Linked DNA regions of Homo sapiens: all the other regions are linked to region 1. Evidence: promoter capture Hi-C in 16 types of primary human blood cells and fetal thymus (Javierre and others, 2016). All regions are on one chromosome and are shown on one strand. The core of a region is centred on a gene start or on the middle of the fragment in contact, and the rest is flanking DNA. Distances in the headings are between cores, read along the strand shown.

Evidence for each region. The method cuts DNA at HindIII sites, captures the fragments that hold promoters and counts their contacts. A CHiCAGO score of 5 or more calls a contact.
Region 2: a fragment that was not itself captured here is called in contact with the fragment with the promoter of HECTD1 in region 1 in 1 of 17 cell types (naive CD8 T cells); the score reaches 6.2 in naive CD8 T cells.
Region 3: a contact is called between a fragment that was not itself captured here and the fragment with the promoter of HECTD1 in region 1, in 1 of 17 cell types (M0 macrophages). The highest score is 8.3, in M0 macrophages.
Region 4: a contact is called between a fragment that was not itself captured here and the fragment with the promoter of HECTD1 in region 1, in 1 of 17 cell types (M0 macrophages). The highest score is 6.3, in M0 macrophages.
Region 5: a contact is called between a fragment that was not itself captured here and the fragment with the promoter of HECTD1 in region 1, in 3 of 17 cell types (total B cells, M0 macrophages and non-activated CD4 T cells). The highest score is 6.6, in total B cells.
Region 6: a contact is called between a fragment that was not itself captured here and the fragment with the promoter of HECTD1 in region 1, in 2 of 17 cell types (M0 macrophages and M1 macrophages). The highest score is 8.0, in M0 macrophages.
Region 7: a fragment that was not itself captured here is called in contact with the fragment with the promoter of HECTD1 in region 1 in 1 of 17 cell types (M2 macrophages); the score reaches 9.4 in M2 macrophages.

The regions. Positions count from the first base shown.
Region 1 is chr14:31,206,102-31,209,613 of GRCh38, forward strand. HECTD1 (HECT domain E3 ubiquitin protein ligase 1) reads right to left here and starts at 1,692. Exons shown (of 43, transcript NM_015382.4): 1 at 915-1,692. RefSeq lists enhancers at 584-1,097, 1,610-2,121, 2,099-2,268, 2,122-2,633 and silencers at 739-948, 1,069-1,278, 1,579-1,918. The HindIII fragment of the contact is 4,913 bases long and covers 166-3,512 here.
Region 2 is chr14:35,818,333-35,821,844 of GRCh38, forward strand. It overlaps the pseudogene NUTF2P2. Among named protein-coding and RNA genes, the nearest start is that of BRMS1L, 6.2 kb to the right of the region's middle. RefSeq lists an enhancer at 1,003-1,504. The HindIII fragment of the contact is 4,817 bases long and covers 1-3,512 here.
Region 3 is chr14:35,399,727-35,403,238 of GRCh38, forward strand. It overlaps NFKBIA (NFKB inhibitor alpha), which reads right to left. Exons shown (of 6, transcript NM_020529.3): 3 at 3,424-3,512; 4 at 3,045-3,133; 5 at 2,668-2,937; 6 at 1,787-2,334. The coding sequence ends at 2,287. Among named protein-coding and RNA genes, the nearest start is that of NFKBIA, 3.3 kb to the right of the region's middle. RefSeq lists an enhancer at 2,391-3,264. The HindIII fragment of the contact is 724 bases long and covers 1,640-2,363 here.
Region 4 is chr14:35,313,165-35,316,676 of GRCh38, forward strand. It overlaps PSMA6 (proteasome 20S subunit alpha 6), which reads left to right. Exons shown (of 7, transcript NM_002791.3): 6 at 1,197-1,291. PRORP-PSMA6 (PRORP-PSMA6 readthrough) reads left to right here. Exons shown (of 15, transcript NR_182666.1): 14 at 1,197-1,291. Among named protein-coding and RNA genes, the nearest start is that of PSMA6, 23 kb to the left of the region's middle. The HindIII fragment of the contact is 632 bases long and covers 1,482-2,113 here.
Region 5 is chr14:35,044,557-35,048,068 of GRCh38, forward strand. It overlaps FAM177A1 (family with sequence similarity 177 member A1), which reads left to right and starts at 1,716. Exons shown (of 5, transcript NM_173607.5): 1 at 1,716-2,072. The coding sequence starts at 1,908. RefSeq lists enhancers at 1,236-1,435, 2,156-2,425, 2,526-2,585 and a silencer at 1,556-1,905. The HindIII fragment of the contact is 2,045 bases long and covers 1,241-3,285 here.
Region 6 is chr14:34,643,341-34,646,852 of GRCh38, forward strand. No RefSeq gene overlaps it. Among named protein-coding and RNA genes, the nearest start is that of SNX6, 15 kb to the left of the region's middle. The HindIII fragment of the contact is 2,755 bases long and covers 341-3,095 here.
Region 7 is chr14:34,366,688-34,370,199 of GRCh38, forward strand. No RefSeq gene overlaps it. Among named protein-coding and RNA genes, the nearest start is that of SPTSSA, 94 kb to the right of the region's middle. The HindIII fragment of the contact is 1,722 bases long and covers 800-2,521 here.

The sequences.
Region 1 (3,512 bases), core at 442-2,941:
TGGACGTAAGAGTGCTTAATGCAGTTTTTCAACTTTCCTTATCCGCCAGGTTTAACGTACAGATATCATACCAAATGAAAACCAGTTTTGCACAAGAGTATATAAGCTGATTAGGTTGCTGCTTAACTAGAAACCAGAGCTGTCTGTGTCAAAGACAGTCAGTCAAGCTTCAGGTCCCACTACTGCTATCACTAAAGTCTATGCCAAAAGGCAAAGAACACCTAACTAAAGGTTCTGTTTTTTCCAGCAAACTTCATCCCCCTCCTTCTCTACCCAAAACTGATCTTCAGATAAGGGTTAGATTCAGTATTTTGAGGAAACTCTAAACACCTTGATCCAATCCCCCTCCAAATTGTTTCTCCTTCAAAATTACCTCCAATTTCACATATTCTGCTGACTTCTCAATTTACTTCTATTTTAAAGATATCCAAATACAAACGACAATTATATACAAGATTTATCTATGAATAAAGAGTTGGTTAGGAATTTTGGCAGTCTTGGCAACTATTCTTAAAAGTTAAAAAAATAAAAAAATTAAAAAAGGAAAGGCTAAAAGTAAATGCAATGGACCAGCAGGTTACGGATCCGAACGAATGTAGGCCAACCTAGGGCCCTCTTTCCCCAGCTTCACAAGATAGGGCAGTTGGTTAAAAAAACAAAAACAAAACCGAGAAGCAACCCCAACAGGTAAGTCATTACAAAAGCGCCCCGTAAGCGCCCTGACTGGAGGACAGCTTTGGGTCCCACGTAACGCAGCCGCAAGTGTGGGAAGCCGGCGGCGGGGCGCGGTGGGCACCCAACGGCGGCGACCAGCGGGGTTGACCCCACACCCGGGGCCCGGCCGAGCCGGGCGCTGAGAGGCGCTGGCCCCCGCGCTGTGGTTCCCCAGCACCAAACCCCGCTAAGTTAACTACCTGTGTCTACGAGGAAGGGAAGTTCTGGAGAAGCAGCAGCAAGCCTTCGTGCCCGAGAGGAGGCCGCCGGGCCAGGCAGGGCGCCGGCTCTCCCGGGAGCTGCGCCCGGAACTCGAAGGCCTGGCAGCGAACCCTTCTCAAGGGCAAAAGGAGCCGGCCTGAGGCTCTGGCGCGGGCAACCGGGCCCCGCCGCCGGCAGGGCCCCGGGAGGGGAACAAAGGGGCCAGCGGGGAAGTCGGCAGCAGCCTGGCCGACCTCACTCGGCGCCGGGGTCTCGCTTTCCGCCACTCGCCGGGCGTCCGGGATCCGCGCCCCCACGCAGGGCCCTTCCGACGGTCCGAGGCGCTCCCGCCTCCCCTTCCCGCAGGCTCTTACTCGGGCTTGTCGTTCCAAACCGCTCCGATCCAGCTCCCAACAGGCCGCCGGCAGAGCCAGGCCCGGCCGCGGCCCTAGAGTTCCCAAGAAGCCGCAGGCCGCGCAGGTCGAACCGGGCAGGCGGCACAGGAAAAGCCGCGCCTCGTCCCTCCCCTTCCTCCGCGAGGACCTGGTGACAGGGAAGCGAGAGGTTCTCGCGTGCGGCAGCAGCCAGCGGACGTCCAGTCCCCAGCACGCGGCTCCTCAGGCCCTGCAACTCAGAGGCCCGCGCGGTGCTGCGGGCGACGGCGGCGGCGGCGCGGCGGGGAGGCCCAGTCCATCGCGAACCGGGAGGGGGAGGGGAGGAGGGTCGAGGGAGAGCCAGGCGGGGAAGCTGCCGAGGGCAGCCGAGCCCGGCGGAGGCGGAGCAAATCCACTCCCCCGGCGGCGACCCCGCCGGCGGCCACCTGGGGCGCTGCGGGACGGCCGACCGCCGCGCAGGGGCGCCAAACCGGGTACGCCGCGTCGCCGTCCCTGCCCCGGAGCTCTCGCCCCCGCCGCCTCGGGCTGTGTCGTACGTTTCTGCCGCGGCTTTTCTATGGTGCGCCCTGGCCCCCTTTTCGCTTCCCTGTCAGTCCGAGCGCGCTCATGCACGCACGTCCAGCTTGCTTGGCGCCGTGGCTAACACTTTGCGCGCTCCTGCGGAGGGCGTCGCACGGCACAGCACAGCAAAGCTGCGGCCCAACCTGTCCCCGCTGAGCCTTCCGCCCAGGCCACCCGCACTCAGCCACGATCTTCCCTCCTCGCGCACGGAAGTGCGTCGCGTAAGGAAGGCGTCTCCCCCCGCTCCTGGGAGGCCGACCGCCTGGCGGTTCACCCCAAAGAAAACCCTTCAGAGCAACCCTGGGAAAGAGGTGCTGCCGACGATTATCAACGTTGTACAGATGAGACACTGAGGCTCCAGGAAAGCGCAAATGCAGGCCCAGCGCCGTGCCCGGTCGGCAGCAGCACTGAGAGTGCACTTTTGACTACGTTTCTTGTGGCTTGTGGTCACAAGTATGTCTGTGGTTATTCTTTTCAAACTTTATTTCACACGCATTCAGAATAAAGGATGCATGCTTATAGGACGTAGTTGGAGCCCGGAGACGTCCTACTGTACTCTCACTTTCAGCTTTTAAACAAAAAGAAAAATTAATACGACATGATAGTGTTTGAGACATGGTCCCTCAGGCAACCAGAGGAGCTGCTAGGTATGAGTAAAGAACAGAATTTGGGTCCGCTGCGTTTCCTGTAATCCCAGCACTTTATGATTTTACTCTCTTGAGGCCCGGAGTTCGAGACCAGCCTGAGCAACATAGACCTGGTCTCTGCAAAAAAATTAAAATTTAAAAAATAATTACCCAGATGCGGTGACGCACACCTATGGTCCCAGCTACTGGAGCGGTTGAGATGGGATGATCCCTCGAGCCCAAGAAATTGAGGCTGCAGTGAGCTTTGATAATGCCACCTCACTCCAGCCTGGGCGACTAAGCAAATTTGTCATTTCCAAAATACTGGTTCTTTTTTTTCTTTCTTTTTTACTACTTCTTTAGAAAAAGAACCAGTATTTTGGAAATGACAAATTTGTACTTCAGATAGCTATCCGCGCATGTCCCGTTGTCGCAGGTAATGGTCCGTTTAGGTATCCTGTTAACGAAACAAGAGGAAAAAGAGGATTCAACTATTTTGTCCCAAGTACAACACATGAGGATAATTATTTAGATGTCATGAGTGTGAATTGGAGCTGCCAGGAAACTTCAAGAAGGAAGTGGCATTCCCTCTGGACCTTGAAGAATGGGTACAATGTAGACACTGAAAGGAAAGGGAAGAACATAAAGCCTGATATGTTCCTAGACATAGGAAAGGTCACCTGTGCCCCCAGCAAAGAACCAACAGTAAGCAACAGAGAGAGAAATTTGGAGCTAAAGTGGGGAAGGCCTTGAATGAGGAATGCAGAAATTAGGCTGAGCTAAGTAGCAAGTTCTGGACTACAACACTGGAAAAACTAGTCTTAAGAAGACTAATTATGGAAAGTGTCTAGAACGACTAAAAGGATCTATCTAGACGAGACTAGCTGGAGGTTGTCGAAATGCTGCAATAATGGAGGAAAGAAAAGTCTAGTTATTGGCAATATGAATGGGGAAGAAATCTAAAAATAATTTTTGAAAGAAGATATATCAGAATTTAAATGATTAACTTAAAAAT
Region 2 (3,512 bases), core at 585-3,084, 4.6 Mb after region 1:
ATTGGAATCACATTTTCACGTAGTTGGAATAATTATAAGTTGGTCTCATCTAGTTCTCAGTGTAGGTCCTAAAGCCCCTTTAGTTCGAATGATGAGAATATTTATCCTGATTCGATACTAGCTATTAGTAGCAGCTCTGGTGTCCTATCTTTGTTTTTCCAACTCCTAGCATTTGGCCTGAGTCAATCAGTAGACAAAGTTTACGGATTGTATAGCTGATGTCTCTGCCCCACCATGTGGTGGAGCCTGGAATTAAATTTGCTTTATTTCAGAAGCTGGATCTGCTGATTAAAAACAAACACAAGGAATATAATGAGGGTAAATCAGAGTAAAACCTGGAATTCTAACTGCTTCCTTATACCTACTTTATTCCAAACAAAGATGAAATTAAAAATTTTATAAATTTATATTTTAATATTTCCTTCCTGCCCCCCAGGATACAGTTCTCGAATACACTCCTCCCACTTTGGAGACACTGACCTAGAGAAATTCTCACACATATGCCTGAAGAAAAGGTGCATACAACAATGTTCATGCTGGGCACGGTGGCTCACCCCTGTAATCCCAGCACTTTGGGAGGCTGAGGTGGGCGGATCACCTGAGATCAGGAGTTCGAGACCAGCCTGACCAACATGGTGAAACCCTATTTCTACTAAAACCACAAAATTAGCCGGGCATGGTGGGGGGCGCCTGTAATCCCAGCCACTCCGGAGGCGGAGGCAGGAGAATTGCTTAAACCTGGGAGTCGGAGGTTGCAGTGAGCCAAGATGGTGCCATTGCACTCTAGCCTGGGCAACAAGAGGAAAACTCTGTCCAAAAAAAAGCAAACAAACAAACAAACAAACAAACAAATGCAATGTTCACGGAGGCAACTTTTTTTTTTTTTTTTTTAAAGACAGGGGCTTACTCTGTCTGTCACCCAGGCTGGAGTGAAGTGGCACAATCACAGCTCACTGAAGCCTGGACCTCCCAGGCTCAAGCCATCCTCCTACCTCAACCTCCCAAGTAGTTGGGACTACAGGCACGCACCACCACGCCCAGCTAATTTTTGTATTTTTTGTTGAGACGGGGTTTCGCCATGTTGCCCAGGCTGGTCTCCAACTCCCAATCTCAAGCGATCCGCCTGCCTCAGCCTGCCAAAGTGCTGGCACTACAGGCGTAAGCCACTGTGCTGGGTCTGAGACAAATGTTTTTAATAGTGAAAAAATTGGGAGCAGCCTCCCTGTCCATTAATAGGTAAATGGGTAAACTGTAATATTCATTCAATAGAATATATTTACTAAATGGAACATGTTATGGCAGGTAAAAATAACTGGATGAGAGCTACCTGAATCACAATGGGTAAATCTCAAAAACGTCACTAAGGAGAAAGTCAAGTTGTAGCATACGTAATGCATGAGACCACTTAAAAATATGAGCATTTTGAGACCGTGCTGGGTTGCCGCCGCCGCTGCAGCCATCGTGCCAGCCCCTCGGGTCTCCGCGAGGCCGGCTGACGGTCCAGAGTGGGAGACAAGCCAATTTGGGAGCAGATAGGATCCAGCTTCATTCCACATTACTACCAGTTATTTGATAACGATAGACCCCAACTAGGCGCAATTTACATTGACGCATCATGCCTTACGTGGGAAGGACAACAGTTCCAGGGGAAAGCTGCCATTGTGGAGAAGTTGTCTAGCCTTCGGTTCCAGAAAATCCAGCACAGCATCACCGCGCAGGACCATCAGCTCACGCCGCATAGCTGCATCATCAGCATGGTTGTGGGCCAGCTTAAGGCGGATGAAGACCGCCATCATGGGGTTCCACCAGATGTTCCTATTAAAGAACATCAACAATACTTGGGTTTGCACCAATGACATGTTCAGGCTCGCCCTGCACAACTTTGGCTGACCTCTCAGCAGGCACTCATGCTGTTTCTTGCTCCCTCCTCTCCCCAGTGCTATTCCCACTCCTCCAGATGCTCCAAATATCATGCACAAATGAGCAGGGCCGTGGCGGGAGTGGGTGCAGTGCGCTGCTGCCGCCGAGGTGTTGTGCATGATGTTTGGACGCTAGACTAGTTGCATCTGACGGGAGAAGTTTGTATTGTACCAGCGCATGCCTTGGAAAGACTTAAGTAATGCAAAAGATTGTCCTTTTTTTTCTTTTAATCTACTGACAAGTTGCTCTAGCAACCCAAAGAAGTGAAGAGAAAGAAGCTGCCTCACCGCCCAGACATTGATTTGTTCAGATGTTTCAATGCCTCATGATACAATAAAACCACAACATCTTCCTAAAATAAAAAATAATAAAAATAAATAATTAAAATAAAAATATGAGCACTTTAAACAGGCCAAACAATACTATATATTATTTTTGGATACATATACAAAAATAGTATGTATAGATGCATGGGTAACCAAAGCACATGGTAACCAAAAACAGGATACTAGTTACTCTGGAAAGGGAAGGAGAGAATTAGGATTGAGAAGCATCGGAAGCAAATGTAAAATGCTAACATTTGACAGAGCTGAGAGGTAGGTACTGTGTTACATATGCAATGTTCTGAATACCTTTCTCTGTGTTTAAATATTTATGACTTAAAATATTACACAAAACAGAATAGAAAAAAAGTATACCCCAAAGAAGATAGGGGAGGAAAACTAGAAGCAAAATGCCAAAATTACTATATGTCTACTTTGTACCAGAGCAAACCCAGCAGGAGACGGAGTGCTATGGGATTATCTACCAAGAATTATGATAGGCATGTTATTGGAGAGAATGACACTGAGCCAGGAGCTAAATTCTTCAAAACGTGAGAGGGAGTGACCCTGGGTTATATAGATGACACCCACATATATACTGTGTGGTATATCCTGATGACAAACTGGCAGATTTTAGGGAAGAGGGAAGCAGGAGCCTCTGGATGGAAGAAGGAGAACGAGGAGCATACCTACTCCATGACAAGGCTCAGGAGGAGGAGGAGGGTACAAAGGAAGCAAGGTCCTAAGGGAGAGCCATATTTCCTTTAGAACAAGAATGTTGAGGGAACAGTTCAGGGAAGAGAATGAAGATATAGGAGATTTTGATGATGACTAGCTATGAGTTTCAGAGCTCTACAAATATGTAAATATGAATGGATTAATAAAAAGTGAGACTTAAAATATATCTAATGTTTATATAGGCCCTATGCAAAATGTAAAGTGCTACATAAATGTAAGGCATCCTGGACCTCCCAACTGCATAATAATAATATAATAATAATAATCATTATTACCCTTTTAACTGCCTTGATTAAGGAAACTTCATTCTGCTTCCATGACTTTATTTTGTATTTTCTAAATCAACAAAATTATTTTTTAGCCTTATTAACTTTTCCCTATTATGGTTCTTCTCACATTCCCTACGCATCTTTTCTAAAATCTGTTTGAGAGGAGGTGAGAGAAACTCTTGCCTTAGGCAAAATACTCTCATGCAACTCTAATTGCATAATCTCCTATTATTCTGTCTGCCTTAAAATTAAACTTAATGAT
Region 3 (3,512 bases), core at 752-3,251, 4.2 Mb after region 1:
ATCACCTGAGGTCAGGAGTTCAAGACCAGCCTGGGCAACATGGTGAAACCCTGTCTCTACTAAAAATATAAAAATTAGCCAGGCGTGGTGGCAGGCACCTGTAATCCCAGCTACTCGGGAGGCTGAGGCACAGAGAATCGCTAGAACCCGGGAGGTGGAGGTTGCAGTGAGCTGAGATCATGCCACTGTACTCCAGCCTGGGCGACAGAGCAAGACTCCATCTCAAAAAAAAAAAAAAAAAAAAAAAAAGAAAGAGAAAGAATTGGGGCAGAATTGGCTTTAACCAGTCTGTAGTAACACTCCTTATATGTGGAAGACCACTAAATACTGGCTCCTTTTTGGTCCAAGGTGACCATATTCTTTTGACTTTGACATCGTTTGTGGATCAGGAAAGGGATAATGTAATAATTTTTTCTTAGGTATAAGTCAAAGACATGAATTGCATTTATACACTACTCTGCATTTTCTAGAATGCAATAACTTTACTTTTTCCTCAGAAATGTTTTGGCTGGGTGTGGTGGCTCAGACCTGTAATCCCAGTGCTTTGGGAGGCCATAGTGGGTGGATCTCTTGAGCCCAGGAGTTCCAGACCAGCCTGGGCAACATAGAGAAACCCTGTCTCTACAAATAAAATTAGTCAGGCATGGTGGTGCATGCTTGTAGTCCCAGCTACTCAGGAGGCTGAGTTGGGAGGATCGCTTGAGCCCAGGAGTTTGGGGCTGCAGTGAGCTGTGATTGCACAATTGCACCCCAGCCTGGGCAACAGAGTGAGACCCTATCCCCCAAAAATTTAATAAAAATGTTTACAGAGTACAAATGCAGATTTTTTATATTGTATAGCGGTAAAGTCTGGGCTTTCAGTATACCCATCTTTATTCTTCTCTCTACCTAGGCAAGAGAGCCATTTTAGGGATGAAAACCTCAAGATAGAGCATCTAAGCCAAGTTTCACATTACTGGTTTCTTGTGACATTTGCTCCTGTAGAATCGTCCAGTACAATCAGTAGACTGAACTGATAAGACCCTTCAAGCCTTTATTACTTTTCTACTACAGCCAATAACACATAGATTTAAGAGATGGAATGCTCTTAAAAGATGTTTACCCCAAAACGAGCACGTATGAAATATGTTAACCACCTATTTCTCCTGCAAGGTGACCCTAGACAGGACATTCTCTCTGGACTTGTTTCTCCTGGTATGACATAAAGAACGTTGCGTAACAGCTTGTTTTTCTTTAGCACTACGTGCCTGCCGCTCTGCTATGCATTTTACGTGGATTGTCTTATGTAATTTTCACAACAGCCCAGCTAATAAATGAGAAAACTGAGGCTCAGAGGTGAGCATCTGCTAACAAATGTCAGTGCAGTCCCATTTCTGAGCCTATGTCCTTAGGAACTTCCTGTATTAGTGAGATCTTTCCCAGCTCTATATGAATTCAGCATATTCTTCTTGGCCAAAATAATTTCCTCAACTGGCAATTAGGGTCCAGGAAGTTTAAATCAACGGGATGACAGAATGACAACGGAGAGGTCTCCAACCACAGGCCAAACAGCATGCTTCCACCCCAAGCCTGAGATTGGTAATTTCCTATAACCTTGCAACAGCCTCCCTCCCACACACTGGGCCCAGGGTGCCTGCAAAGCTTTGCTGGAGGCTGGGTGTCAGGTGTGAGAAGCTGCTGGGAGTTACCTCCTCCCTCACACTGCTCCACCTCCACCTCTGCCGGAGGATGGAACTTCAGAACCGGAGGCCCACGGCAGCCTGAAGAAAATGATCAGGATAACTCATTTGTAAAAATCTGTTTAATAAATATACATCATAAAAGTACCAAAATAATTACCAACAATACATTATGTACACCATTTACAGGAGGGTAACACAAACCTTGACAGGTAGTAACTTTTCACCCCACATCACTGAACGCTTAACACTCCTGGCTGTTACATGTCACAGGATACCACTGGGGTCAGTCACTCGAAGCACAATAAATATAAAATGTGGTCCTTCCATGAAATTTTTGATAACCTTCTCCAAAAACCCCACAAAGGTGAGGTTTAAAAGAAGTTTTCTCAGAATTTCAATGATCTTTCTCGTCCCCTACAAAAAGTTCACAAAAGCAACAAAATGAGGGCTGATCCTACCACAATAAGACGTTTTGGGCCAGGCAGTGTGCAGTGTGGATATAAGTACACCCTTTAAATTTTTTCTTCTTTTTTCTTTTTTTAGAAAAATAAAACTTTTTTTTTGTACAAATATACAAGTCCATGTTCTTTCAGCCCCTTTGCGCTCATAACGTCAGACGCTGGCCTCCAAACACACAGTCATCATAGGGCAGCTGAAAACAAGGGGAAAAAAGACACGTTAAGCTTCCGGAGCGGAGCTCTGCCAAGCTACCGGGATGGGGAGGCCACTACTGGAAATAACTCTTGGACTCCATTCTCCATAGCCCAAATATAATGAACTTTACAGGCTGAGAGAGTTTGCCTTTAATGCTTCTCTTTAAAAAAAGAGGGGGGGCAGGTACATTCTTGGGATACTGGTTATGCACAGAAATTTGAGAGACTCATTATGTAGATACCCCTCTGATAAGGAGCAGCTCTAGGGGCCTGGGAGGGTGAAGGGAATGGCACCTCATTAGTTAGAGCGCCGAAGGAGTTCACAGACTCACCTCGTCCTCTGTGAACTCCGTGAACTCTGACTCTGTGTCATAGCTCTCCTCATCCTCACTCTCTGGCAGCATCTGAAGGTTTTCTAGTGTCAGCTGGCCCAGCTGCTGCTGTATCCGGGTGCTTGGGCGGCCCCAGGTGAGCTGGTAGGGAGAATAGCCCTGGTAGGTAACTCTGTTGACATCAGCCCCACACTTCAACAGGAGTGACACCAGGTCAGGATTTTGCAGGTCCACTGCGAGGTGAAGGGCAGTCCGGCCATTACAGGGCTCCTGAAACCAAAAGGAATTTGAGATGCTTATGGCTGCATTTGGAATTTCTGCTCACAACATAAGCACGAGGAGCCTGACTCAGTGCGTCGGGGGCAGGAAGCACCAACCTGAGCATTGACATCAGCACCCAAGGACACCAAAAGCTCCACGATGCCCAGGTAGCCATGGATAGAGGCTAAGTGTAGACACGTGTGGCCTGGAAGAACAAAAGGAAAAAAGTATAACCACCTGTTTCAACCCTCACTCCTTTCACCTATTCTTTTATGGAACAAGTAGTCTTATCTTCTGAATTTTAAGAACCCACAGTCTGGGTTCTGAAAGAACTTTATAAAGGCATCCAATAGGCACTTTGCACACATATTTTCTCAACCTTCCAAATGTTAGGAGTTTAAGCTCTTGCCTGGACTCCTTAAGTTGGCCCACCTGCCCCTTCTCCACGTCACCTGCCCTCCGAGGGGGTGGGGCAGGGCAGGGAGGCAGACATACCATTGTAGTTGGTAGCCTTCAGGATGGAGTGGAGGTGCGGGGTGGTGCAGGACTGAGTCAGGACTCCCACGCTGGCCAGGCAGCCCTGC
Region 4 (3,512 bases), core at 548-3,047, 4.1 Mb after region 1:
AGTTGTCAACTTAATAATGAAATTGATATCATACAGCTGACATAGGAAAATTTGAGTTGCTTTTATTCACTTAATTCCTTATTTCGTAATGTATTTGAGGTGGCTTTCAACAAAACGCATATAATAGGAAAATATAAATAAAAATAGGAACCAGCTGGGCATGGTGGCACACACCTGTAGTCCCAGCTACTTGAGAGGCTGAAGCTGGAGGACTGCTTGAGTCTAGGTGTTCGAGGCCAGTCCTATTTACTGCCAAGAAATTAAAAACAAAAATTTTAGTAGATTTTGGGTGTAAGTCTGGAATTAAAGCCATTCTGAAGATGCTAACAACATGCTTCTGATAAGTGACCAAAAAAAAATTACCATCTAATGCTTTTACGTTTGGTTTGGAAGTATGCTTAAAGGAGATAAAAAGCTAGTTCATGTTCAGGAAGTACTGGGCCCTGTCTAAATATTTCTTAAAGGTTTCTTTTATTGCAATTCATAATTAATTACATAAATAACCACATCCGGTAAAAAAACACTTAAGGTGGCTCACACCTGTAATCCCAGCACTTTGGGAGGCAGACAGATCACCTGAGGTCAGGAGTTTGAGACCATCCTGGCCAACATGGCGAAACCCTGTCTCTATGAAAAATACAAAAATTAGCCGGGCATGGTGGCAGGCGCCTGTAATTCCAGCTACTCAGGAGACTGAGTCAGGAGACTCGCTTGAATCCACGAGCCTGAGGTTGCAGTGAGCCAGGCTGGCGCCACTGCACTCCAGACTGAGCGACAGAGTGAGACTCTGCCTCAAAAAACAGAAACAAAACAAACAAACAACACTTAAAACATTCTTAAATCGTTTTTACTGTAAATTCCTTGAAGATGCAGAGAGTATCATTCATCTTTATCCTTTTCCCATTTCACCCCAAGTGCTAAGTGAAGTGTAGTGCCTGGGTCATGAAGCCAATAAACCTTTTTGTATAAATCATCCTATTTTAATTAATGGACCCCTTTATTATTTGACTTGGTAGAAAAAAATTTCTCATCATTGGGAGGCAATACATTAGAGTTAAGCAGTCTGTTAGTAACATTGAACTACCTCATTGAAACATGGAGCTCCTGATTGACTCATGATTTGAATAAGCTAGGAATGAGAAAACCTTGGAATCTCTAAAAAATACTATATTTTAACATTAAATACTTTTTTTCAGACTGCAATTACATGCCTGTCTACTGTTCTATCAATTGATTTCAAACCTTCAGAAATAGAAGTTGGAGTAGTGACAGTTGAAAATCCTAAATTCAGGTGAGTGATATTGTGGGCCACATGCAGACTAGAAAGGTGGAGGCGTGTGAGTCCATGTGTCCTATAACTTGTGGGGGAAATCTTTTTTCTTTAACTGTCATTATAGTTTTTGTTTGTGTGTTTGTTTTTTTCCCCAGCACCTGAGATCTGTTTTTAAAACTTTGGACTCTATTTAAGAGTCAGATATGAAAGCTTTTCTCCTTATTTCAGAGTGATTTTATATCTAACACCAGAGATGACATAAAGTTACCTTCCTTATGTAAGGAAAAAAATTAGCATAAGTGTTTTCTTTTTTTTAGTTTAAGGCCAATACAAATTCAATTCCCAAAGTAGTAGTTTGCAAGTTTTTCAGATAGAACTTTGGTTATTTAGTGGTTATTTAAGTAGAACTTTGAGGAGCAATATGAGTTACTGATATATGTCAGACCCTTATCTAGAGATCTTTGGAAAGCCCAAATTTTGAATACAGCTAATTGACTTGCAGTTGCTGGATGTGTGTGTGTGTGTGTGTGTGTGTGTGTGTGTGTGTTCTTACTCACTAAGTGACTAACTCCCACACATCAGCCTTATAGCTTCCATGATTCAAATCCATACTGAGTGCTTCGTATAATCAGCTCATTTAATCCTCCCAGCAGCCCTGTGAGGCAGTTGATATACCATGGACCAGGATGCTCTTATCTTTAATGAAAATACTGCAGTTAAATCGACAGATACAAGGAACTACTGGGAGGCATTTTAACTATTATGTGTATCTATTCTTAGATCACAACCATAAAGACACATGGTCTTGGTTGTGGTGTGGGGTACGGGAGTGGTAAACTAAGCTTAACTAGACCTTGAAGAGGTTTTTCGTTTGTTCTTTTTTTTCCTAATTTGTTCTTTTGGTTGCCCACAGATAAGTCATATAAACATGACAGATTCAGAAAAATTCATAGGACTTTAAAAAAAAAAAAACAGCTGGGTGCTGTGGCATGCATCTGTAGTCTCAGCTCCTCAGGAGGCTGAGGCAAGAGGATGGCTTGAGCCTTGGAGTTGAAAGCTGTAGTGCGCAATGATAGTGCCTGTGAATAGCCACTGCACTCTAGCCTGGGTAACATAGTGAGACCTCATCTGTTAAAAAAACAACCGACAACACCAAAAGCGAATCTATCCTAGCTTTTCTTCCCGTAGGAAGAAGTCTTGTAACTTGGGTTGGGGTAGGGGTGAGGGGTGGGGGCAGGGATCAAGTTGCTTTTGAAAAAGGTGCCTTTTTTTTTTTTAAGTAAAAATTTCAGCAAGAATAATCTTAAAATCTCTCTAAGGAACCTACAATTAGTTCTTGTTTTCTTTTCTGTTTGGAGACCTTCCTGCCACCTTTAAAATTGTATTTGTTATTTTTTAAATTGGTAAGGAATCAAAAATCTTGTCTTCAAAAAACTTTGTATCATTTATAAATTCTGTGATAGTAAATATATGTAAATAATTACAGTACATAGCATAAGCATCAACAACTATTTAAACTGCTTGATATTGCCTTCAGTTGCACTAAAAAATGTCCTTTTGACAAATTTCACTTTTTAGAAGTCTAGTAGTAATAGGTCACATTAACAAGGTTGCCAAACAATTGCTTCCTTTCGAGGCAAACATCATTTAGAAAATACATGTTCAGGGCCACACATGGTGGCTCACACCTGTAATCCCAGCACTTTGGGAGGCCAAAGTGGACAGATCACTTGAGGTCAGGAGTTTGAGACCAGCCTGGCCAACATGGTGAAACCCCATCTCTACTAAAAATACAAAAATTAGCCAGATGTGGTGGTGGACGCCTGTAATCCCAGCTGCTTGGGAGGCTGAGGCAGGAGAATTGCTTGAGCCTGGGAGGCGGAGGTTGCAGTGAGCCAAGATTGTGCCACTGCACTCCAGCCTGGGCGACAGGGTCAGACTCCATCTCAAAAAAAAAAAAAAAAAAGAGAAAGGAAATATATGTTCAACATGGAGCACTCTCTGGCTGGTAGACTATTCATAGAATTATAACTTTATTTTCATGAACTTCTGAATCTGAACACTTTAATATGCTTAAAATTTCTTCATGAATTTTTATCTTTGAGCTGACATAAATTTCAGTTATACTACATATAAATGTATTTTGACGGCTGGGCAAGGTGGCTCACGCCTGTAATCCCAGCACTTTGGGAGGCTGAGGCAGGCGGGTCACGAGGTCAGGAGTTCCAGACCAGCCTGT
Region 5 (3,512 bases), core at 1,013-3,512, 3.8 Mb after region 1:
TAAACTGTGAAAATATATTCTGCTTCGGCAATGAAAATTGTAATTTGAGGCCAGGCGTGGTGGCTCACGCCTGTAATCCCAGCACTTTGGGAGGCTGAGGTGGGTGGATCATCTGAGGTCGGAAGTTCGATACTAGCCTGGCCAACATGGTGAAACCCCGTCTCTACTAACAATACAAAAATTAGCCGGGCGTGGTAGTGCACAACTGTAATCCCAGCTACTTGGCAGGCTGAGGTGGGGGAATCGCTTGAACCCGGGAGGCGGATGTTGCAGTGCGCCAAGATTGCGCCATTGCACTCCAGCGTGGGTGAGACCCCATCTCAAAAAAAAAAAAAAAGAAAAAAAAGAAAAAGAAAATTGTAATTTGATATTTAATTGCCACTTTGGAAAATAAAATCATGCATTTATAAATATCCCACAAAGTTTTAGTAATAAAGATTGTTGATTGCCCTGCTTGCCAGTAAGAAGGAAGAGATTTTGAATACATATAATGCAGAACTGTGTTGTTTATGAATGCCAATTCATGAAGTCTTAACAATTGGTTCTTTATTTTTGTTTTCAATTTATGGCCGAGTTTGGTTTTGCTGTTTTGGACTGTCTCAACTCCCTGCTGATGCCACCATACAGAGTCAGATCAGGTACTAACTTGTTTACTTCAGCAGCAACCTAACTTGATTTTATTACCAGGATAGAGAGCAATATGGATTTCCAACTAGTTTTTAAGGCGTAGATGGTTTTCAAATGATTATTTGTTTTTTAAAGTTTTTGGTTTTGTTTTTAGGTTCCAGTTATACATAGAATAGGAAGTGTACAATAACATTAGGCAGAGGGTAAGGAGAAGAACTTTGGCACAGAAGAGAAAGGAATATTTAATATTTGGGCCTGCTGTTGCTATGATGAAAAACATTTACAAGGTCATACAACTTTAGGGAGCATTTCTGAATTGAGACTAGTATGAAAATGGAATTTAAAGTATCAAATGAAGCCTCCCATAGCCAAAATAATGTATGTTTTGGTTTTGCCCCCTACATATTTGTGAAAACTTTCATGCTAAAACAACAATATACCATTTACCTGCAGAACCTCAGACTTGTTTGATGTTGAAGTCATGCAGTAATTGCATGATTTTTTACTTTCGTTGAACATTGCGAAAGACGGAAAAAATCTGGGACGCCCCCTCTAACATACGCACACGACTTTAAGACACAGATAAAACATTCCTTACATTTGTCAAGATGGAAGCTTACTACTGCCCTTTGCTCTCCTTCAGGTCTTTTCACTTAACACTTTCTACAGTTATACTTAAGTATTTCAGACAAGAGTAAGCAAATATCACGCCTGGGGTTCTTCTTTCGAGGGTATTTTGGCTGGACTGTCACCCACGTTTGGAATGGAAAGTGCAGCACGAGCCGTACATTTTACATTTTTCAGCAACCACATCCCATCACTAGCCTTTGAAGTACAACGACACAGCTGTCTTCATTTTACAAGTGCAAAAACCGAGGTCCTGCGGGGTGACTGCCCCAGACGCCGCTGGTGACGGGCTGCGCCGAGGTCGAGACGCCAGGCTTCAGGTACACGTACCAGAAATGACGTCACAGGCGGTGCCAGGCGGGGATCCACGAGCTCTGGATGCTTGCTTGGCCGGAAGCGACGCCCCGCAAGGACCCGCCCCGCCCCGCCCCGCCCCGCGCGAGCCGGTAGTTGCGCCTCCCAGACTGCAGTTGGCCAGCTCTCGGGGTGCGGAGCCCGGCGGGCTAGGCGAGGCGCGGGCTGGCCCCGCCCCTCAGGCCGGCGAGTCCCCTTCTCAGAGACTTGGCTAGGCGCGGCGCGAGGCGGGCGCTGGGCGGGTGAGTCCCACTTCCCGACAGCCTGGCTCGGCCAGCGACTGGGCGGGGAGACCAAGGATGGAAGTGGGCTTACCGGCCATTACCCTCTTTCTCACCAGCGCCAGCAGCCCTGTGGTGGCGACGACGATGGACCAGGAGCCAGTGGGCGGTGTGGAACGAGGAGAAGCCGTCGCAGCCTCGGGAGCTGCGGCCGCCGCGGCATTCGGGGAATCTGCAGGGCAGGTAGGTGGGGCCGCCGAGGCTGACGTCCGGGGAGCCGAGCCGCCTCCTTGCCTTCTCCGCGGGCCGCTCTTTTAGCCTGCGCGGCCGTCCTCCGAGCAGGCCGCCCCAGCTTTGGAGTTCCTCCTCACTGCACCCCTGTTTCTGCTCACTGAGACCAGCTTGTGGGAAGGAGCGCCCCCCGCCTCACTCACCAACCCCTTGGCTGGCAGCACAGCAGACTCTGGGGCGGCCTCGGGTTCCTGGGGTGATAGTCCAGCTTCTGGTCTACCAGAGGAAGAAGAAAGGCGTGTCCCCCAAAGGCTGTCCTTGCAGTAGCTGGAAGCCAGGTGAGGGCGGCTTCAACCACTTCTCAGTCTCTTCTGGTGCGAGCGCCTGCCTGGGCATCTGCCCTTTGCTTGGCATATGCCAAACGTTTACCAGCTTTAATTCACTGGATCCTTACAGTAACCGCTCGAGGTGGGTGTTAGCCCCATTTCACCGCCGAGGCAACTAAGGCTCCGAGCTGCGCTGTCCAACATAAATAGAATGCAAGCTGCATTGAAAATTGTAATTTAAAATTTTCCAGTAGGCACGTTTTAAAAAAGTGAAACCGATATTAATTTTAATAGCATATCTTATTTAACCTAATTTATCAAAACAATTTCAACCTAAAATTACTATGAAAGTTATTAATGAAGTATTTGCATTCTCTTTTGGAGTCTTTTCTAAGTCTTTTAAATCCTGGGTGCATTTTACACGCATAGCATATCGCAGTTCTGGCTGACCACATTTCAAGTGCGCATTAGCCACATGTGGCTAGTGGTTACTGTATTGGACAGCGCTGGTTTAGAGAGTTAACGTTTCTTGCAACTTTTCAGTATTAGACAAAAAGACACTTTGGGAGGCCAAGGCGGGTGGATCACCTGAGGTCAGGAGTTCAAGACCAGTCTGGCCAACATGGTGAAACCCCTTCTCTACTAAAAATACAAAAATTAGCTGGGCGTGGTGGCGCTCGCCTGTAGTCCCAGCTACTCGGGAGGCTGAGGCAGGAGAATTGCTTGAACCCTGGAGGTGGAGGTTGCAGTGAGCCGAGATCACGCCACTGCACTCCAGGCTGGAGACAGAGCGAGACTCCGTCTCAAAACAGCAACAACAACAACAACAACAACAACAACAAAAAAAAAACCCTTGAGTTGCTCATGTATGTAACTCTTCCCATCCTCCATGAGAATGAAGCTTTTTCAGTAGCTTCATTTTTGAGACTAAGTACCTGAATGTTAGTAAGACATTTCCCCCAAACTGTGAGTATATCTCTGTGTATCTCTTATAGTATAAGATGTCGTTTGCATTAACAAAAGCTTATCCAGCCTGGGCAACAGAGCAAGAACCCATCTCTTAAATAAAAAACTAAAGAAACCCCAAAAACAAAAAACACAACTTTCCCACATACCAAACTCTATA
Region 6 (3,512 bases), core at 468-2,967, 3.4 Mb after region 1:
AATCTTGACCTTCAACCTCCCAGGCTCAAATGATCCTCCTGCCTCAGCTTCCCAAGTAGCTGGGACCGCAGGAGTCTGCCAACACAACTAGCTAATTTATAACTTTTTATTTTTATTTGTTAAGAGATGAGTCTCTCCATGTTGCGTAGGCTGGTCTCGAACTCCTGGGCTCAAGGGATCATCCCGCCGTGACCTCCCAAAGTGTTGGGATTACAGGCGTGAGCATCTGATGCAGGCTCCACTTCTAATTTTAGTTCTCTTGCTGTTTCCACATCTGCAGTTACTTCCTCTACTGAAGTCTTGAATTGCTAAAAGATTCTGATTACTTTTAAGAAAAAGAAGCTTTTAAATCCATGAGGATTGGAATCAACTTCTTTCAAACTTTCATTTAATGTTGATATTTTGACCTCCTCTATGAATCCTGAATGTTCTTAATGGTATCTAAAATGGTGAATCCCTTCCAGAAGGTTTTCAATTTACTTTGCCCAGGTCCATCAGAGGAATCATATATATGACAGCTATAGCCTTATGAAATGTATTTCTAAAATTATAAGACTTTAAATTCAAGATTACTCCTTGATCCACAGGCTTCAGAATGGCTATCGTGTTCAAAGGCATGAAAACAATATTAATCTCCTTGAACATCTCTAACGGAGCTCTTGAGTGACTAGGGGCATTTTCAATAAGCAGTAATATTTTGAAAGAAATCTCTTTTTCTGAGCAGTAAGTCTCAATAATGGGCTTTAAAAATTCAGTAAACTGTCCGGGTGCGGTGGCTCACGCCTGTAATCCCAGCACTTCGGGAGGCCGAGGTGGGCGAATCATGAGGTCAGGAGTTTCAGACCAGCCTGGGCAACATGATGAAACCCCGTCTCTACTAAAAATACAAAAAATTAGCTGGGCACAGTGGCAGGTGCCTGTAATCCCAGCTACTCGGGAGGCTGAGGCAGGAGAATCTCTTGAACCTGGGAGACAGAGGCTGCAGTAAGCCGAGATCAGCGCCACTGCACTCCAGCCCGGTGACAGAGTGAGACTCTGTCCAAAAATAAATAAATAAATAAAAAATTCAGTAAACTGGCCAGGTGCTGTGGCTCATGCCTGCAATCTCGGCACTTTGGGAGGTTGAGGCAGGTGGACCACTTGAGCCTAGGGGTTTAAGATCAGCCTTTGTAACATGGTGAAACCCCATCTCTACCAAAAATACAAAAGTCAGCCAGTCTCATAACCCAGTCTCTAAATAAATAGATAGATTAAAATTTTTTAAAAGTTAAAAAATAATATTCAGTAAACCATATTGTAAACAGATGTGCTGTCAGCCAGGCTTTGTCGTTTCGTTCCATTGATAAAGCATAGGTAGGCTAGATTTAGCATAATTCTTTTTTTTTGTTTTTTTTTTTTTTTGAGACAGAGTCTCGTTCTCTCGCCCAGGCTGGAATGCAATGGCACGATCTCGGCTCACTGCAACCTCCTCCTCCCAGGTTCAAGTGATTCTTCTGCCTCAGCCTCCTGAGTAGCTGGGATTACAGGCACCCACCATCATGTCCAGCTAATTTTTGTACTTTTGTAGAGATGGGGTTTCACCATGTTGTCCAGGCTGGTGTTGAACTCCTAACCTCAGGTGATCCGCCTGCCTCGGCCTCCCAAAGTGCTGGCATTACAGGCGTGAGCCACTGTGCCTGGCCGATTTAGCATAATTCTTAAAGGCCCTGGGATTTTGGAATGGTAAATGAGCACTGGCTTCAATTTAAAGTTACCAGCTGGTTTAGTCCCCAAGAAGAGAGCTTGTCTTTTGAAGCTAGGCATTGAGTTTTCCTCTCTAGCTGTGAAAGTCCTAGATAGCATCGTTTTCTAATAGAAGTCTATTTTGTCTATATTGAAAATCTGTTTAGTGTAGCCACCTTCATCAGTTATGTTAGATCTACTGGATAACTTGCTGCTTCACCTTGCACTGTTATGTTACGAAGATGACTTCTTTCCTTAAACCTTATGAACCAACCTGTGTTAGCTTCAAAATTTTCTTCTGCAGCTTCCTCATCCCCTCTCAACCTTCACTGAATTGAAGAGAGTTAGGGCCTTACTCTGGGTTAGGCTTTGGCTTAAAGATAATATTATGGCTGGTTTGATCTTCTATCCAGACCACTAAAACTTTCTCTATATCAACAATAAGGCTGTTTCACTTTCTTTTTGTTTGTTTGTTTGTTTGTTTTGAGGTGGAGTCTCACTTTGTCGCCCAGGTTGGAGTGCAGTGGCACAATCTTGGCTCACTGCAACCTCCACCTCCCAGGTTCAAGCAATCCTCCTGCCTCAGCCTCCCAAGTAGCTGGAACTATAAGTATGTGCCGCCGTGCCTGGCTAATTTTTGTATTTTTAGTAGAGAAGGGGTTTCACCATGTTGGCCAGGCTGGTCTCGAACTCTTGACCTTGTGATCCACCCGCCTCAGTCTCCCAAAGTGCTGCGATTACAGGTGTGAGCCACCGTGCCTGGCCTAATTTTTAAATTTTTTGTAGAGATGGTTCTCCCTGTGTTGCTCAGGCTGGTCTCTATTTTCTGGGCTCAATAAATCCTCCCTCCTTGGCCTCCCAAAGGGTTGGGATTACAGGCGTGAGACACTGTGCCTGGCCTTTTAAAATTGTCTGTGGAGACAGGGTCTCACTATGTTGCTTAGGCTGGTATGAAAGAACTTTAATACCTATATTTTCATATGATTTCCTTCTTTTATAACCCTAGTTTATGCACTTAATCATTTTTCTGGAATCCTGCAAAATACCTGACCAATACTCCTCAAAACTGTCAAAGTCATGAAAAAAAGGGAAGATTGAGACACTACCACAGACCAGAGGAGACAACTAAATACAATGTGGTTTCTTGGATTAGATCCCGGAACAGAAAAAGGACATTGGTGGAAAAACTAGTGGCAGTCTGGCATCTAGTTAATAATAATGTACCAATGTTAGTCTCTTACTTTCAGGAAATGTGCCACAGTATTGTAAGATGACCACTTTAGGGGAAACTGAAACTGAGTGAGGAGCATGTGGAAACTGTACTTACTATCTTTGCAACTTGTTTGTAAATCTAAAATTATTGCAAAATAAAAAGCTTATTTTTATTTTATTTATTTTATTTTTTTTGAGACAGGGTCTCACTCTGTCACCCAGGCTGGAGTGCAGTGGCACGATCTCGCCTTACTGTAACCTCCGCCTCCTGGGTTCAAGCGATTCTCCTGCCTTGGCCTCCCGAGTAGCTGGGATTACAGGTGCCTGCCACCACGTCTGGCTGATTTTTGTATTTTTAGTTGAGACGGAGTTTCACCATTTTGGTCAGGCTGGTCTCGAACTCCTGGCCTCAAGTGATCCTCCTGCCTCGGCCTGCCAAAGTGCAGGTATTACAAGCGTGAGCCACTGTGCCTGCCCTAAAAAGCCTATTTTTAAACAAGCATTATTCTGAGAAGGGATTCAGGCATCTACAGCACAAAAGGATTCAGAATGCTTGCCATAGAGCTGCAGATGCTGTT
Region 7 (3,512 bases), core at 411-2,910, 3.2 Mb after region 1:
GGATAAACAGGACAGCTCTTCTTTACAAAAGTAAGACACTCATAAATGTAAAAGAAATGACAAAATTCGAAGATCACCATTTTGTAACCCCTGATATAATCATTGATTCATGTAACAATCACCAGTGGAAGCCAAAACCTTTGGATGAAAACTTGTTAGCATACGGGCTATCCCTAGAGTACCAAAGTACCATCCCAGGGACCACTTACTTTTACAAAGAAGAGAAACTGGGCCAGGCACAGTGGCTCATGCCTGTAATCCCAGCACTTTGGGAGGCCAAGGTGGGCGGATCACAAGGTTAGGAGTTCGAGACCAGCCTGGCCAACATGGTGAAACCCCGTCTCTACTAAAAATTCAAAAATTAGCTGGGCATGGTGGCACACGCCTGTAGTCCCAGCTACTTGGGAGACTGAGGCAGAAGAATTTCTTGAACCCGGGAGGCAGAGGTTGCAGTGAGCTGAGATCGCGCCACTGCACTCCAGCCTGGGTGATAGAGCAAGACTCCATCTCAAAAAATATATAAAATAAACAAAGAAGAGCAACTGTACCTTTGAAATGGAGAGGTATGGTGGTGACCACCTTAATCCAGTGATTGAATTTCACATCACAAAAAATGGAACACTGTGGCATTACATGCTTCCTGATATGATGCAAATTCAACAACCTAATCTAAGGCAGTAGCGCTTCTTAATTGCATTAGAATCACCCGAGGAGCTTTTCAAACTCCTAATGCCAACTACGGCAGAATCTACTTGGGCAGGGGCGGGGGCCGGAGTTGCCAAGCATCAGTATTTTTTAAAGCTTCCCACATGATTGTAATGTACAGTTAAGATATTCTGAACAAAAACGTATACTCGAATCTAACTTCTAGTTTAAAGAATATACAGGAGATAGAGCAGTGGTTCTTACTTCTGACCTCATATTAGAGCCACCCGGAGATTTTTGAAAGTAGGGCCACCTGGGCTGCATCCCAAGGGCTTCTGATTTAACTGGATTAGAGCAGCACTCAGACATTTGTATGAAATTTCTAGGTTTTTAGTTTTGTATTTAAAACCCCCAGTGAGAACAGAGTGGACCAATTTATTACTTCTTCTTTGTAAGGCCAATTAATCAAAACAAGGAATTCTAATGTACAGCCCGGGTTAAAACTTACTGGGAAAGAGGAACAGGTTAACATCAAGAGAAAACACAATCTAGAATGTGGGACATTCTATAAGGCTGCGAGCCTGGATTCTTCAAAAAGTCAATGTCATGGAGGGAAAAAAAGAGGGATAAAACATTCTATGTTAAAATGAAGTTTTAAAATGTAATGTATGCATTAATTTGAGAGAAACAGCTACAAAGACATTTTGGAGGAATTAATGCAGTTTGTTTGTTTGTTTGTTTTTCTGAGACAGGGTCTCGTTCTGTCATCTAAGCTGGGGTGCCGTGAGTGGTGTCATCATAGCTCACTGCAGCTTCAACCTCCTGGACTCAAGTGATCCTCCCACCTCAGCCTCCTGAGTAGCTAGGCCTATAGACATGCACCACCACTCTTGCCTTTTTTTTTTTTTTTTTTAAGAGACGTCATTTTACTATATTGCCCAGACTGGCCTTGAACACCTAGGCTCAAGCAATCTTCCTAAAGTGCTGAGATTACAGGCGTGAGTCACCATGCCCGGCCAGAAATGTAAATATTTAGTTGATTTTAGATAGTTAATTTTCTTAGCAGGGATAATGACATTTTGTTTCTGTGGATAAATATCTGTATTCTTAAGGGATGAAATGCTGAATATCGAAAAGTGTTGTGTCATCATGTGTACATAATTTGCTTTCAAATGGCACACAAAAAAGAAAACCAAAGTACAGAGAAAAATAAAGCAAGTATTGCAAAATATTAACAATTGTGAAATTTATGTGGAGGGCATATGGGATTACACCATAATAATCTTTCAACTTTTCTGTGTGTTTGAAATATTTCATAACCGTAAGTTGAAGAAATGAGAAAGATTTTAAATAGAGATAAAAACTCACTTACAAGGCCATGGAATTTCCATCTGTTTTACTTCTCTGCAGGCAAGTCTACTCACAACTCCACCACACTCAATCAACCTTACACCACACCCAGCAATTAAAGGCTGCCTTTCTCAATCTTTGCCCACTAGATTTCGTGCATTCAAACAAGTGTAGAAAATGCTGGGTTATATTGGATTTATCCACAATCAGGCATGGCAAACACCACCAGGAAGCACTTCTCTCTTGAGCTGACCTGCCTCGCCTATGACATCCAAGAAGACTGGCAGTTATGGTATCCATGACAACTTTCCTATCTCATTTGGGCTTGAGAATCAGGCTTCCTCTAGTCTCTGACAGAGGCACTTCAAAGTAACAAGCCTGCAAATATTCTCATGGCACAATACAAGCCATATATGAAATACAAAACTATCTACCTCCCTGCCCTGGCTAGTCCCTTGCTGTGGGACAAAAATGCTTAAGCCATGATGGTAGGGCTCTCCTGGTAAGTATTTAGCAAAGGAAAGGAAGCTTTACAACATGACAAATGGCAAAAGGTGATTTCACTCTTTTCCCCCAGAATCATCAGAGGCTCTGCCCCACCTGTTAAGACTACAAAGCGGATAAAATACTGCCAGTCTGCCAGGAGCTCATGGTCAACCACAGTGGACAAATACCATGCTTCTAATTAGGCAGACTATAATAAACTGCATGATAGGGGTGTTTCCAGAGTGGTGTGGGTCTACAGAAGAGGGAAGTATTAATTCCATCTGTGGGTGTTGGAGAAAGCTACACAACGGAGTTCCTTGGCTTTTGACGGGGGAAGTGTTGAGAAATGAAGGGAAGGGCATCCAGGCCAGGCAGAACCATGCCAGCAAATGCACCAGTATGTGAAAGCACCCAGTGTGTTCAGGAAGTGGCACCAATTTGGTGAGGGGGAGAACAAGATAGGACCAAGATGCCCTGACTTCTTTGCAGGGCAAATTTTACTTAAGTGATTTACTGATTTGCTCTCCTCCTCCTCCTCTCCTTCTCCTCCTTCTTCCTTTTTCTTTCTTCCTCTTCTTCTTTTTCTTCTTATCATTATTATTATTATTATTCTCTCTTTAAGCATTCAAAAAAGATCTTGCATAAGAACTCAAGGGAGGGAGCACATTCCTTAAGTGGCATTCTAAATAGGGCTTTCCTAAGGCTCAGAAATGGTAGGTGCCAGGGTAATTGCTTGATAAGCAAACTGTACGTGTCAGGGCAGGAGATTCCAGGTCACCACAGTGCTTGCACTGAGGACAGTGCTCCCTAAAACTAGGCATCTGAGTTCTACAAGTAGGACAATGCAGCTACTACTTATTAAGAGCAGATATATTTATTCAGTTAATTTTTAAATTACATTATCCTTGTCAGCACTAGTGATGAAATAAAAATGGCTAAATTAATTGTGTCAAACACTGTTGGACATCATCTCTGTTGTTGTTGTTGTTGTCGTTGTTTTGTTTTTATTTGTTTTTTGTTATGGAGTCTCG